Linked DNA regions of Homo sapiens: regions 1 and 3 are each linked to region 2. Evidence: promoter capture Hi-C in 16 types of primary human blood cells and fetal thymus (Javierre and others, 2016). All regions are on one chromosome and are shown on one strand. The core of a region is centred on a gene start or on the middle of the fragment in contact, and the rest is flanking DNA. Distances in the headings are between cores, read along the strand shown. Region 1 overlaps SEC11A (SEC11 homolog A, signal peptidase complex subunit). Region 2 holds the start of SLC28A1 (solute carrier family 28 member 1). Region 3 overlaps SEC11A (SEC11 homolog A, signal peptidase complex subunit).

Region 1 (4,907 bases), core at 2,142-4,641, 190 kb before region 2:
AAAAGGTCTTACTCTGTTGCCCAGGCTGGAGTGCAGTGGCACAATCACAGCTCACTGCAGCCTCCAACTCCTGGGCTCAAGCAATCCTCCCACTTCAGCCTCCCGAGTAGCCAGACGTGGTAATTTTTGTATGTTTTGTAGGGATGAGGTTTCGCCATATTGCCCAGGCTGATCTTGAACTCCTGGGCTCAAGCAATCCGCCTACTTCAGCCTCCCAAAGGGCTGGGATTACAGGTATGAGCCACCATGCCTGGTCACTTTTGTTAATATTTGCTTGTGGACATTCTACACAACTGTCCTAGTCTCTTCAAAAATCCAATGTCATTCAATGTCATGGAAAAAAAGGTGGAAGACTGTTCTAGATTAAAAAGTACTAAAGAGATATAACAACCAAATGTAACGCACAAACTTTGGTTTCTTTGTTGTTTTTTTCTTCTCATTCAGTTCTAATAATGCACAAACTTTGGCTGGATCTTGGTTCAAAAAAAAAAAAGCATAAGAAAAAATCTGAATATTTTGGGGTGAACTGGGGAAACTCAAAATATGATTTGAATATTAAATGACATTAGGAAATTCATGTTTTCTTTTTTTCTCTTCTTTTTTTTTTTTGAGACAGGGTCTTGCTCTATCACACAGGCTGGAGTGCAGTGACATGATCTCAGCTCACTGCAACCTCTACCTCCCAAGTTCAAGTGATTCTCGTGCCATAGCCTCCCAAGTAGCTGGGATTACAATGGGCATGCATCATCACGCCCGGCCAATTTTTGTATTTTTAGTAGAGACGGGGTTTCACCATGCTGGCCAGACTGGTCTCAAACTCCTGGCCTCAAGCAATCCACCCGCCTTGACGTCCCAAAGTGCTGGGATGACAGATGTGAGCCACTGTACCCGGCCTCTAATTTTCTTAAATTATGTGATAATGGTGTTGTGGTTATGTGGAATACTATCCTTATCACAGGAGATGCATATTAGTAGTAGTTAGCTAGTAGTTGTAGTTAGGGGTGAATTCTCATATCTGCAACTCATTTTCAAGTGATTCAGCAAAAGAAAATTCTATATATGCACACACACATAAGTATACATAGAACAAATATGGCCAAAATGCTAATAATTGTTGGATCTGTGTGACAGATTACAGGTGTTCCCTGTACTGTTTTTTCAATTTTTTCTGAAAAATTCCAAAAAATGCATAGAAAATATGGAAGAAGCCAGGTGCAGTGGCTCACATCTGTAATCCCAGCAATTTGGGAGGCTGAGGTGGGTGGATCACTTGAGGCCAGAAGTAGGAGACCAGCCTGGCCAACATGGCGAAACCCCATCTCTACTAAAAACACAAAAATTAGCTGGGTGTGGTGGGACATGCCTGTAATCCCAGCTACTCAAAAGGCTGAAGCACAAGAATCACTTGAACCCAGGAGGCGGGGGTTGCAGTAAGCTGAGATCGCACCACTGCACTCCAGCCTGGGCAACTGAGCAAGACTCTCTCAAAAAAAAAAAGGAAGAAAATAAAATAAATGTTAGTTGTTATATTTGGGGGTGTAATACTAGGCAATTCTTATTTATTTCATTTTGATCATCTACATTTTCTACTTCCCTTTTTAAATCAATTGTTATTTTTAATCAAAACAGTATACACACATACATACAAGAATATGTAAAAAAAAGCAATATCCTAGCCATGGCAGGCCACCTACATCAACCATTTTCATCTCTTCTAGCTATTCATTCTGGTGTTTACCCCAACCACTCTAAAAACTGTTTGTTTACTTTCATACTAGGGTGTTAATGCATGATGTTCAAAATGTACAATGAGGGGCTAGGCACAGAGACTCATGCCTGTAATCCCAACACTTTGGGAGGCTGAGGTGGGAGGATCACTTGAGCCTAGGAGTTCGAGACCAGAAAGCAAGACCTTTATCTCTACAAAAAAAAATACAAAAAAAGGCCGAGTGCAGTGGCTCACGCCTGTAATCCCAGCACTTTGAGAGGCCGAGGCAGGCGGATCACGAGGTCAGGAGTTTAAGACCAGCCTGGCCAACATGGTGAAACCCCATCTCTACTAAAAATACAAAAATTAGCCAGGCGCAGTGGCGTGTGCCTGTAATTCCAGCTACTCGGGAGGCTGAGGCAGGAGAATTGCTTGAACCCGGGAGGTAGAGGTTGCAGTGAGCTGAGATCGCACCATTGCATTCCAGCCTGGGCGACACAGCAAGACTCCATCTAAAAAAAAAAAAAAAAAAAAAAAAAAAAAGAAGGTAGAGGAAAATTTAGCACACTAAATAGAGATGCGGATGATTAAAAAAAAATATCCAGAGGCTGGGCTCGGTGGCTCACGCATGTAATCCCAGCACTTTGGGAGGCCAAGGCGAGCAGATCACCTGAGGTTGGGAGTTCGAGACTAGCCTGCCCAACATGGAGAAACCCCCATGTCTACTAAAAATACAAAATTAGCTGGGCTTGGTGGCACATGCCTGTAATCTCAGATACTCGGGAGGCTGAGGTGGGAGAATCGCTTGAACCTGGGAGGCGGAGGTTGCAGTGGGCCGAGATCGCACCATTGCACTCCAGCCTGGGCAACAAGGGCGAAACTCCGTCTCAAAAAAAAAAAAAGAAAAATTAGCTGGGTGTGGTGGTGCATGCCTGTAGTCCCAGCTCCTTGGAGGCTGAGGCAGGAGAATCACTTGAACCCAGGACGTAAAGGCTGCAGTGAGCTATGATTGCCCCACTGCATTCTAGCCCAGGTGCCAGAGCAAGACTGTGTCTCAAAAAATAAATACAATTGTGATGAGGAATCCAGCTCTCTTGTACCATTTTCTATTTTCTCCCTACAATTAACCTGTTTTTCCTGCATACTTTTTAAAAACATTTCAAGTTTCATATTCTTCACACTTGATCTTAGCCAAAAGGCCGAGAAGCGATCAAGTTTCATATTCTTATAAATGCACAGTTAATCTCTGAAAAGACAGACAAGAAACTGGAGAAAAGGAACCAGGAGTCAAGGTGGAAGAAAAATATTTTCTGATATACATACTTCATGTTTTTACAGTTTTTACTATATGCAAGTATCACCTGTTCAAAACTAAACTGTTTTGGTTTATTTTTTTAAGTCCACGCTAATGGCCAGAACACTATTCTTCTAGCATTCCAATGAAGCACGGTGTACTCAATCAATGTAATTAATCAATTTCCACAAAAGGAAATATGAACATTTTCGCCGAGACAATTAGAAATATTTGCTGTTCTTTCAGTAATAGAGTGATGTGAGCACATGGATAATCTGAAACCTACTTTGACACTCACATTTACAGGTAAGGAAACTGAGGCACAGAGAAGCTAAGCGACATGCTCATGGCTGCTTGTCTACTGGCTGGCAGAGTAGCACTATTAGAACTCTGGCCTCCTAAATTCTATGTTTTCAAGATGGTGGCTTTTTAAAAGACAAAATGGGTCTTCTTATTCTGAAGGCTGAATTGAAGACGTGGAGTGGGACATGATAGAAGTAGGAAAACTAGCTTCTAAGACACAATTATGTCAACCAGAAGATAAACAGTGAGGAATTCAGTTAAGACTCAAATTTCCAACTTTCTGCACTAAAAATATCACCTACAGTACTGGTTAGGACAATAGATTCTGGGCCCTAATTCAGAACCTCTGAGGAAGGGGTTGTAGGATTCTACAATGTATATAGCTCCATAATCCCTTACTCAAAACCCTTGGGGGTCAGATGTGTTCCAGGATTCAGAATGGGTGTGATTTTGAAAAGGTAATACTTGCATGTACCCTATGTTACATATACTCTTAGCAGGGTTTATGGCAATATCCCAATATCAAACACATTAAGATTTTGGCAGCAAAACAAAAATTCACACTGAAGTAAATAAAAACTAAAAACAAAACAAAACAAAAACCCACAGTTCACGTCTATTTTGTTGGGGAAAAAAAATTTCCATTTTCAAAAGGGCTCGGTTATAGAGTTGCAGAAGTTACCTAATTAGACATTTAATAAGATAACTGCTATTTAAAAGAAAAATGCCCACCGGGTGCAATGGCTTATGCCTATAATCCCAGCACTTTGGGAGGTCAAGGTGGGAGGACTGCTTGAGCCCAGGAGTTCGAGTTCAGCCTGGGCAACATAGTGAGATCCCTATCTCTAAAAAAAAAATAACAAAATTTAAAAATTAAGAAAAAAAAAAGTGCCAGCCAAGGCAACATAGCAAGACCCTGTCTCTTAAAAAAAAAAAATTAATTAGCTGAGTGTGGTGGCACACACCTGTAGTCCCAACTACTTAAGAAGCTGAGGTAGGAGGATTGCTTGAGCCCAGGAGGTTGAGGCTGTAGTGAGCTGTGACAGCACCACTGCATTCTAGCATGGGTAACAGTGTGAGATCTTGTCTCAAAAAATAATAATACAATAAAAATGAACAAGTTAAAATATATAATTTCCTATGTTCTTGCAAGAAAGGTCACTATCCCAGCCATAATTATCCTTCTCCTTTTTCTCAGACATATAATACTTTTATTATGGAATTATTATTGTGAAATGTAGCTAATCATCAAGATCATCTTCCTCATTTTTATTAGAGAAAGAGGTTAAAGTTCCTGATTATGTATAACTGGTATGTTCCTTAAAAGGTACCTATTTGTATACTGCTAAGTCAATCTGCAAGCCAAAACCTAGACAGAAGCACACTATTTGCTAAAACAAACATTGTATCTGAGCAAAAGATTGAAAAGTGTCATACTCTTCTCCCTTTCTTTTTACCCTCTCTTTTCCTGCCAACAGTCTTTACTCAAACGTCAAACATATTGCCTCCCTAGCCCCTACTTTCTTTATCACTATGTCTGAATGCTTAGGAATGTATATAATTGGAAAAAAAGTGTTGCCTCTTTCTGTATTGGCAGAAATA
Region 2 (4,807 bases), core at 2,251-4,750:
TATTGTGAGGGTTCCTTGAGATAGTGCATGTAAGGCTCTTATCACAGAGCCTGGCATCTGCCAAGCTCTTAAGTGTGCCAGCTGGTACCATTGTTGTCACCATCTCCTGGAACTACAGGATCCATCTCAGGGCCCCTCACACACTGCTCTTCCCCTCCAACCTGGGAGCTCCAGTGCCTCTCCGTTTCCTGAGGTTGGGGTGGTTAAAAAAGCTCTCTGCCCAAGCCCCTGAGTACTACCTTTCCAGCTCTCATCCCTGTGGGGACCAGCACTGCCCTGGGGAAGGAGACTGATGGGAACCAACAGGAAATGCTACAGCTGAGGCTCCCGGCCCATGAGCTGGCCAGTATTGAGCTTCTGTGATGGGTCAGGTCTCCACGGCCACAGAACTGAGGGAATTGGACGCAGCCCTTGGAATCAGGAACCTTGCTTCTACAGGTGTAGTGAAATGGAAAGGAGTGTTTCCAAGTGAGTCATGGCGTCTGATTGGCAGGCCCATCCAGGAACAACAGTGAGAGTACCAGTGAGAGTAGAGTGAAAGACACAGCCACGCCTTTGACTCCATGGCAGGACACTAGTGGTGGAATTCCACCTGGGGGGTAGGGGACGAGATATGCTTGGAGAGTTTCAATGTCTGAATATGGGACGTGACATTCACAGGTGTCCGTTTTTGTTCTACCTAACAATTGTATTTAATTTGTGGTGCCCTACTTGTCAGCACTTCTCTATGGACCCTGCTGGTCTTTGGTAGATTTGTTTTCCTGGCTCCTGCCAGGAGGCCTTAAGTCCTCTTCATGATTACTCCTGTAAAAATATCTGGCTTCGCCCTAAGTCTCAGTGAGGGCCACATCAGACCACTTCTATGACAGGGGGAGAAGATGGAACAATCAAGGAATTATTTTTGTCTGTATAGCGAATCGGCTTATCAACTGTGACTTGATCAATAAGGCAATGGAGATCCAAATTAATAGTCTCCACAGCCCCTGCCAATAGCTGGAGGAAGTGTACTTTAGAAGGAAGATATAGCCTTTAGTATAAAACCTATAATAGACAGGGACATCACCCCTGAACCCAATAGCATAACATGAATTAAGACCCTTGGTTTGCAGAACATCTTGATCTGGATCAAACTGAAAAGGAACTATCTCAATTTCTCACTATATGAAAAGCTGATATGAGGCTGGGCACAGTGGCTCACACTTGTAATCCCAGCACTTTGGGAGACCGGGGCAGGAGGATCACTTGAGCCCAGGAGTTCTAGACCTGGGCAACATGGTAAGACCCTGTCTCTACAAAATAGGTAAATAAATAAATATTAGAACAACCAGGATGAAATTTTTTAAAAAAGAAAAAAAAATTAGCTGGCGTATGGTGCACATCTGTAGTCCCAACTACTCTGGAGGCTGAGGTGGGAGGATTGGTGGGAGGTCGAGGCTGTAGTGAGCTGAGATTGCGCCACTGCACGCCAGCCAGGGAGACAGAGTGAGACCCTGTCTCAAAAAAATAAATGAATAAATAAAATGCTAATATGAGCTGGAGAGGCAAGAGGAATAGAAGGTAAAAAGAACAACAAGGGAAATACACTTTTTAAGTACAATCAATTAAATATTAAATATTTGGGAACAGTGAGCTCTGAACTGCTTGGGTAAAATTCGCCCTGCCTGGTGGCCTTAAGCACTCCTGCAGGTGGGACCCGGCATCCTAATTCTACCAGGCCTCTTGTTGCTGCCGTAGATGAGCCCCAGACTCGGCCTTCCATTTTGTATTGGATGATGACCACATGTGCCCAGATGTTCTCAGTGAGTAGAGTGGGTCAAGGAGTAAACTATATCGGAAACCGTTGGATAATCATGCCAAGCAGGCTGGGGGCTTCCAGCCTTTGGGGTACTGGAATGCTTTCTTCCCCTGGGACCAGCTGAACTAGCTCTGTAGTTGCCGGGAGAGCAGTGTGCTCTAACACTTGGGCTAGTCCGTTCCCACAGGAAAACTAGAAGAGTCACAAGCAAAGAGTATAAAAGCCCAAGATATTTCTTTAGTCTTTGTATTTAGCTCTATGTCATCAATTTTTTTTTTTACAGGGTCTCACTCCTGTCGCCCAGGCTGGAGTGCAGTGGTGTGATTATGGTTCACTGCAGCCTTGACTTCCCAGGCTTAAATGATCCTCCCACCTCAGCCTCCTGAGTAGCTGGGATTACAGGTGCACGCCACCACACCTGTCTAATTTTTTCTATTTTTTGTAGAGACAGGGTCTCCCTGTGTTGCCCAGGCTGGTCTTGAAGTCCTGGGCTCAAGCGATCTACCTGCCTTGGCCTCCCAAAGTGCTAGGATTATTGCTACTTTCCAATATTTCTACTACAGACTACGGGAAGTCCATTTTTCAATGCCAAATGCAGAAGAAAAAGTTGTATGGATGCCCTTTCTGCCAATCATCCCAGGTTTAGGAGAGAAGAATGATGAGGTCATGTTCATGGAACTTGACGAGTGATAAGCCTCTTTATTTGTCCAGTGCTTGGATACACGAATCGATGCAATGAAAGAGACCTCGCCTGTGAAGAGCTAAGAAATGAGTGTGGGCAGAATCATGAGAAGAAAATAAAGAGATTGCTGAGCAACTCTTCTGACAGTTCTTGTGCTTTTTGAATGTTTCACTCACTACTTATAAAATAACCTATTATGTCAGAGCCTGGCGAGAAGGGATCCTCTCCAACTCTTTGACTAATAATTCCCTAAAACAGGAGGTGGCCTGCAGAAGAACTAAAACCAGAAAAGTTAGGTGGTTGCCTCTGAGGAATGGGATAGAGTTGGAGGGGTGGAGCAGCCCCTTTACTGTCAACCCTTCTGAGCTCTGCTGGATGGTGAGGGAAATTATCTATGTATATTTATGTGGTCCTCTCCCCACTCTGCCCTGGCCTGGCTCAGCTCTAGGTCTCACTCAGCGGGCGTCTGCGGGTGTGCCGGGCCTCAGAGGCTGTCTCCTTAGGAAACAGGCCACCAAGAAGCCCAAGGACATGCTGAGGTCCCACAGCTGGAGGGGCACAGCCGGGACACCTGAGGTCCTCCAGCTGTTGGTCTTTCCCTGGGGTCTCCACCCCAATCTATCCAGCCTCCCAACTCCCCAGCCTGTGGCTTTTTGCCACATTCCACCTGAAAAGACCGCTTGGCTTCTGGGGTCTGGGATCCCTGCTGGCCATGCCTCCTTGAGAGGAGGAGCAGGGGAGAAGCCCGGAGTCTCCTGGCCTGGAGGAGGGGAGCAGTGTGTCAGGACACCCCGGATGGGACCTGTGACAGCAATGACACCTGCCAGCCTGATGCCGCTTGACTCCCTGCCAGGTACTTCCTAAGCAGGAGCACGCTGACTCCTCATGTGCTCTATTACCCACCACCAGATGAGGCAGCAAGTTAACTTTGGCAGTCAGGAGTGGAGACCTTTGGGCTCCAAGCTCAAGGTCCACCCCAAGACACACAGCCCATTAAATCCTTGTTGTAGAGATTAGGGCCCACAACGATGTGAAGGTTATAAGCTGCACTGCATGGTTGCTGCTGGATGTGTTGTGTTCCTGGCTTCCCTCTGGATGCTGACAGAAACAAGGGTGAGAGAAAAGGACAGTAGGAGAGGAGGGAAGGCGGGACTGAAGAAAGGAGGGGAAGGGGGTAGCACAGGGCAAAGTGGAAAAGCAGGTAGCGTCCTTTTTTTCTTCACTAGGGCTTGGCGAAGACCCCTTCGAGGACAGCTCCAGGCCCATCCCTGTGGTGGCCACCCATGGAGACAGTAGTGCTGCTCAGAGGCATTTAGTTTTTGTTTCTTTTCTGTTTTTGAGGTAGAGTCTCGCTCTGTTGCCGAGGCTGGAGTGCAGTGGTGTGATCTCTGCTCACTGCAGCCTCCACCTCTCGGGTTCAAGCAATTCTCCTGCCTCAGCCTCCCGAGTAGCTGGGACTACAGGCACCTGCCACCATGCCTGGCTAATTTTTGTATTTTTAGTAGAGACGGGGTTTCACCATGTTGGCCAGGCTGGTCTCGAACTCCTGGCTTCAAGTGATCTGCCCACCTTGGCCTCCCAAAGTGCTGGGAGTGCAGGCATGAGCCACCGTGCCCCCCCTCTTTTTTTTTTTTAAAGGTAGAGTCTTGCTCTGTGGCTAGTTTTCAATCAAGGTAACACATGGGCTCTCAACAGTGTGCGGAACTCTGCTAGAAAAATCAAATTATGAGAACACTGTTACTGTGTGATCCCCTATTGGAAAATGAATAACATAAAATAACATACATTTAGGAAAAAAAAAGTGGAGAAAAGGCCAGGCGCGGTGGCTCATGCCTGTAATCCCAGCACTTTGGGAGGCCAAGGTGGGTGGACCACCTGAGGTTGGAAGTTCGAGACCAGCCTGACCAACATGGAGAAACCCCATCTCTACTAAAAATACAAAATTAGCCAGGTGTGGTGGCGCATGCCTGTAATCACAGCTACTTGGGAGGCTGAGGCAGGAGAATCGCTTGAACTTGGGAGGCGGAGGTTGCAGTGAACCGAGCTCGCACCACTGTACTCCAGCCTGGGCAACAAGAGTGAAACTCCGTCTCAAAAAAAAAAAAAAAAAGGAGGAAAATGCCACACAAACTCAATAGTGGTCATCCCTGAGGGCTCAGATTCCGGGGACTTTAACTTCCCTCATTCTGTATATTTCTCTAATGTTTAAATGTTTAATGATACACTTGTAATGCTTTGGTAATTCAAATGACAGATGAAGAAAAAATGTTTTCAAAAAGAGGGGGTGTCCATCCACCATCCTCTCCAAACTTCCAAAACAACCAGGAGGT
Region 3 (4,443 bases), core at 1,440-3,939, 210 kb before region 2:
GCAGAAAGAGAAAATTAGCAGGGTACCATCGATGTGGGCGGAATAGGTGGTTAGCAAATGTAAAACTTTCTTCTTTATCCTCCTCTTCTATCGCTGGACTCCAGAGCGGACTGGCAATATTGTACTAAGCTAGAGCCTGTCATAGGGACGCTGAGCTGAAGTGGAGGCTGACCTTTGCACACTTTAAAACAGCCCAGACCATGCCAAAGACAGCACAAACAGAAATTACCTCCCACATAATATCTACACCATCAAAGCCTCAGGCAAACTTGAAGAACACACATTTTGTTTTTGACACATTTCACTTCCCTTTAAGAACTCGCCTCTGCCTCTGCCTCTGCCCCTGACCATGCCCCTGCCCCTGCCTCTGCCTCTCCCCACGGTCTCCCTCTCCCTCTCTTTCCACGGTCTCCCTCTGATGCCGAGTCGAAGCTGGACTGTGCTGCTGCCATCTCGGCTCACTGCAACCTCCCTGCCTGATTCTCCTGCCTCAGCCTGCCCGGTGCCTGCGATTGCAGGCGCGCGCCGCCACGCCTGACTGGTTTTCGTATTTTTTTGGTGGAGACGGGGTTTCGCTGTGTTGGCCGGGCTGGTCTCCAGCTCCTAACCGCGAGTGGTCCGCCAGCCTCGGCCTCCCGAGGTGCCGGGATTGCAGACGGAGTCTCGTTCACTCAGTGCTCAATGGTGCCCAGGCTGGAATGCAGTGGCATGATCTCGGCTCGCTACAACCACCTCCCAGCCGCCTGCCTTGGCCTCCCAAAGAGCCGAGATTGCAGCCTCTGCCCGGCCGCCACCCCGTCTGGGAAGTGAGGAGCGTCTCTGCCTGGCTGCCCATCGTCTGGGATGTGAGGAGCCCCTCTGCCTGGCTGCCCAGTCTGGAAAGTGAGGACCGTCTCTGCCCGGCCGCCATCCCATCTAGGAAATGAGGAGCGTCTCTGCCTGGCCGCCCATCGTCTGAGATGTGGGAAGCGCCTCTGCCCCGCCGCCCCGTCTGGGATGTGAGGAGCGCCTCTGCCCGGCCGCGACCCTGTCTGGGAGGTGAGGAGCGTCTCTGCCCGGCCGCCCCGTCTGAGAAGTGAGGAGACCCTCTGCCTGGCAACCGCCCCCTCTGAGAAGTGAGGAGTCCCTCCGCCCGGCAGCCACCCCATCTGAGAAGTGAGGAGCCCCTCCGTCCGGCAGCCACCCCGTCTGGGAAGTGAGGAGCGTCTCCGCCCAGCAGCCACCCCGTCCGGGAGGGAGGTGGGGGTCAGCCCCCGCCAGGCCAGCCGCCCCGTCCGGGAGGTGAGGGGCGCCTCTGCCCGGCCGCCCCTACTGGGAAGTGAGGAGCCCCTCTGCCCGGCCACCACCCGGTCTGGGAGGAGTACCCAACAGCTCATTGAGAACGGGCCATGATGACAATGGCGGTTTTGTGGAATAGAAAGGGCGGAAAGGTGGGGAAAAGATTGAGAAATCGGATGGTTGCCGTGTCTGTGTAGAAAGAAGTAGACATGGGAGACTTTTCATTTTGTTCTGTACTAAGAAAAATTCTTCTGCCTTGGGAAAAAAAAAAAAAAAAGAACTCCCCTCACTTCCTGTCTCTTGTCTTCACCCCTCTCTGTCCTCTCCCTTCTAGCAGGATCACTGAGACCTGTCTCTCTTGCCCCATCCCCAAACTCCCATTCCATACACTGGTGTTTCTTAAAGCCTAGACCTCCTCTGTCACAACCGCTTGATGGCTTGTTAAAAATGCAGATTCTTGGCTGGGCACGGTGGCTCACGCCTGTAATCCCAGCACTTTGGGAGGCTGAGGCGGGTGGATCATGAGGTCAGGAGATCGAGACCATCCTGACCAACATGGTGAAACCCTGTCACTACTAAAAATATAAAAATTAGCTGGGCATGGTGGTGCACGCCTGTAATCCCAGCTACTCAGGAGGTTGTGGCAGCAGAATCGCTTGAACCCGGGAGGTGGAGGTTGCACTGAGCCGAGATTGTGCCACTACATGCCAGCCTGGCGACAGGGTGAGACTCTGTCTCAAAAAATAAAAATAAAAAATAAAAAAAATAAATAAAAATGCAGATTCTTGTATCTTTCCCAGACCAACTAAGCCAGGGAATTTCTGAAAGGTGGGGCCCAAATAACGCTCCTGTACATCAAAATTCAAGAAGTACAATTTTAGTGTGAGATGCACATATAGGTGTGTGATGGCAAATAATATCCCTTCTTAGGGTTCATGCTTTCATCTCAACCCCTGGGATCTCCAAGAGCTGAAAAGTAACAGTCGTTAAAGAATGGCACGGCTAAGCTCTAAGAGGATGGATAGAGGTTTTCTACATTTTATATATATTTATATATATATATTATTTTTCCTTTTTAATGCAGTAACTGTTATTTCTTTTGTCTCATTTTTAACACTTCCATAAAAGCAATAGCTTTCAGTAAATCACCTAATTTAAGAACATAAAGGCAAATGCCTCACAGTAAAGTACAGATTAAGAGCTATAAAAGCATCTGTGATTTCTACTAAAACATTAAGCTGCTAATTCTGATCTGATGATCAATAAGCAGCCATTCTAATACACAGAGACTCTGTTACCTCCATGCAATGATATCTATGCCCAAAGAACCACAATCCTCAGCTCCCAGCAATCACATAGCCTGCTTGTGAATAATCCATGGAATTTAAAAAAAAAAATTTTTTTTTTGATACATGATCTTACTCTGGCACCCAGGCTAGAATGCAGTGGTGTGATCATAGCTCACTACAGCCTTGAACTCCTGGGCTCAAGCAATCCTCCCACCTCAGCCTCCCAAGGAGCTGGGACTACAAGTGCACGCCACCATGCCTGGCTAATTTTTAAATTTTTTTGTAGAGACAGCATCTCACTACCTTGCTCAGGCTGGTCTCAAACTCCTGGGCTCCAGCGGTTCTCCCATCTTGGCCTCTTAAAGTGCTGAGATTACAAGCGTGAGCCACCACACACAACCTGAAACTTTTTTTTAAAGGTTGGCTTTTCTTTGCCCACTGTAAGTGAAATGAAAGCAACTTGGTCTTTAGGAGTAATATAAGCAAGATCTAAGGATCCCAGAATATGACGAGGCAGTTCAAAGTCAAACAAAAGATTTAATTGTCTGTACCACTGTTACCCTCCATGGACAGAGATAAGCAAAGAGCTGATAATCAAGTGTATAATGCTGCTATCATCAGTCATCTTAAATTCAAACCATTTGCACTTTTTGCCTATTTTGCTCAGATAAACTCATGTGCTAAAGCAGAGTTGCTAATAAGCAGGAGGTTTAAAGTAAGTAAAATGAATGCCATCCACAAAGCCAACTCCAACACTAGCCTGTGCCAAGTTAATATCTAGAAGGTAAAATGCATTTCATATAGTTAAATACATTTCCGTGGGAATTCTTGGGATCAAAGGTACTGCTGAGGAAGTAGCCTCAGAAGAAAGCACTGTCTCCTGATGCTCATAGAGATCATTAGACAAAAGGCCAAACAAACAGTAAAGAAAAGATGCCACAAAAATTAAGAAGAGACCCCAGCACAATTCTGTCAAATATCAAAAGGGGTCTATATCTGGGAAGTCTGAAATCCAGCAGCAACTAAATGAGAGAGTAAGAGAATATGCGATGACCAGAAAAGGATCATCTTGTTTCTAGAATGACTTGTTTCAAGTAAGAAGTACATTCAAAAAGTCTTATCCATAAAACTGATTTCAGTTAACAGAGAGCTCAATTACTCTACTCCTTCCTTATATATTTTTAATTCTTCTTTCCATTTTCAACATTTCTGTTCCCCGATCCTCTGCCAATCTTTCACCCTTTTCACCTGCTGCTTTCTATTCCTTCTTAACTAATGGGTGCTCTTGAATTTTTCAACTTCCTGAGTTTAGAAAGAAATCACCTTTATTAATACTTAATTGGTTCAGTATTAGTTTCATTTTCTAAAATTGTTTTTATTACATGCTACGACATGAATAAGCCTTAAAAACATTATGCTAGGTGAAAGAAGCTGGACACAAAAGACTACGCATTGTATGATTCTGCTTATATGAAAAGTCCAGAATAGGGAAATGCACAAAGACAGAAAGCAGATTAGTGGCTGTCCGAGGCTACAGGAAGTAGAGGATGGGGAGTGACTGCTAATGAGTACTGAGTTTTATTTTTGGGGTGATAGAAATGTTCTGGAATTAGATAGTGGTGATGGTTGCACAATCTTGTGAATATACTGAAACCCACTGAATTGTACTCTTTAAGATGGTGAATTTTATATTCTAATATATGTGAATTATATCTCAATAAAAGTTTTTTTAAATTATTTTAATTTAGAGCCTTAGGCCTCAACATAAAATTTTTTTAGTGTGCAGCTGTTAAAAAAAAAGAGAGAGACCAGCCTGGCCAACATGGTGAAACTCCATCTCTACTAAAAATACAAAAAATTAGGTGGGCATGGTGGC

Evidence for each region. Contacts are between HindIII fragments. The CHiCAGO score rates a contact against its expected background, and 5 or more counts as called.
Region 1: a fragment that was not itself captured here is called in contact with the fragment with the promoter of SLC28A1 in region 2 in 2 of 17 cell types (M0 macrophages and M2 macrophages); the score reaches 5.5 in M0 macrophages.
Region 3: a contact is called between a fragment that was not itself captured here and the fragment with the promoter of SLC28A1 in region 2, in 2 of 17 cell types (M1 macrophages and M0 macrophages). The highest score is 6.1, in M1 macrophages.

What each region holds. Positions count from the first base shown.
Region 1 is chr15:84,692,867-84,697,773 of GRCh38, forward strand. The region is part of intron 1 of SEC11A (SEC11 homolog A, signal peptidase complex subunit); the gene reads right to left. Among named protein-coding and RNA genes, the nearest start is that of SEC11A, 21 kb to the right of the region's middle. The HindIII fragment of the contact is 7,601 bases long and covers 1-4,907 here.
Region 2 is chr15:84,881,162-84,885,968 of GRCh38, forward strand. It overlaps SLC28A1 (solute carrier family 28 member 1), which reads left to right and starts at 3,501. Exons shown (of 19, transcript NM_004213.5): 1 at 3,501-3,590. RefSeq lists enhancers at 2,580-3,080, 3,081-3,581. The HindIII fragment of the contact is 20,311 bases long and covers 1-4,807 here.
Region 3 is chr15:84,671,892-84,676,334 of GRCh38, forward strand. The region is part of intron 4 of SEC11A (SEC11 homolog A, signal peptidase complex subunit); the gene reads right to left. Among named protein-coding and RNA genes, the nearest start is that of NMB, 16 kb to the left of the region's middle. The HindIII fragment of the contact is 9,766 bases long and covers 1-4,443 here.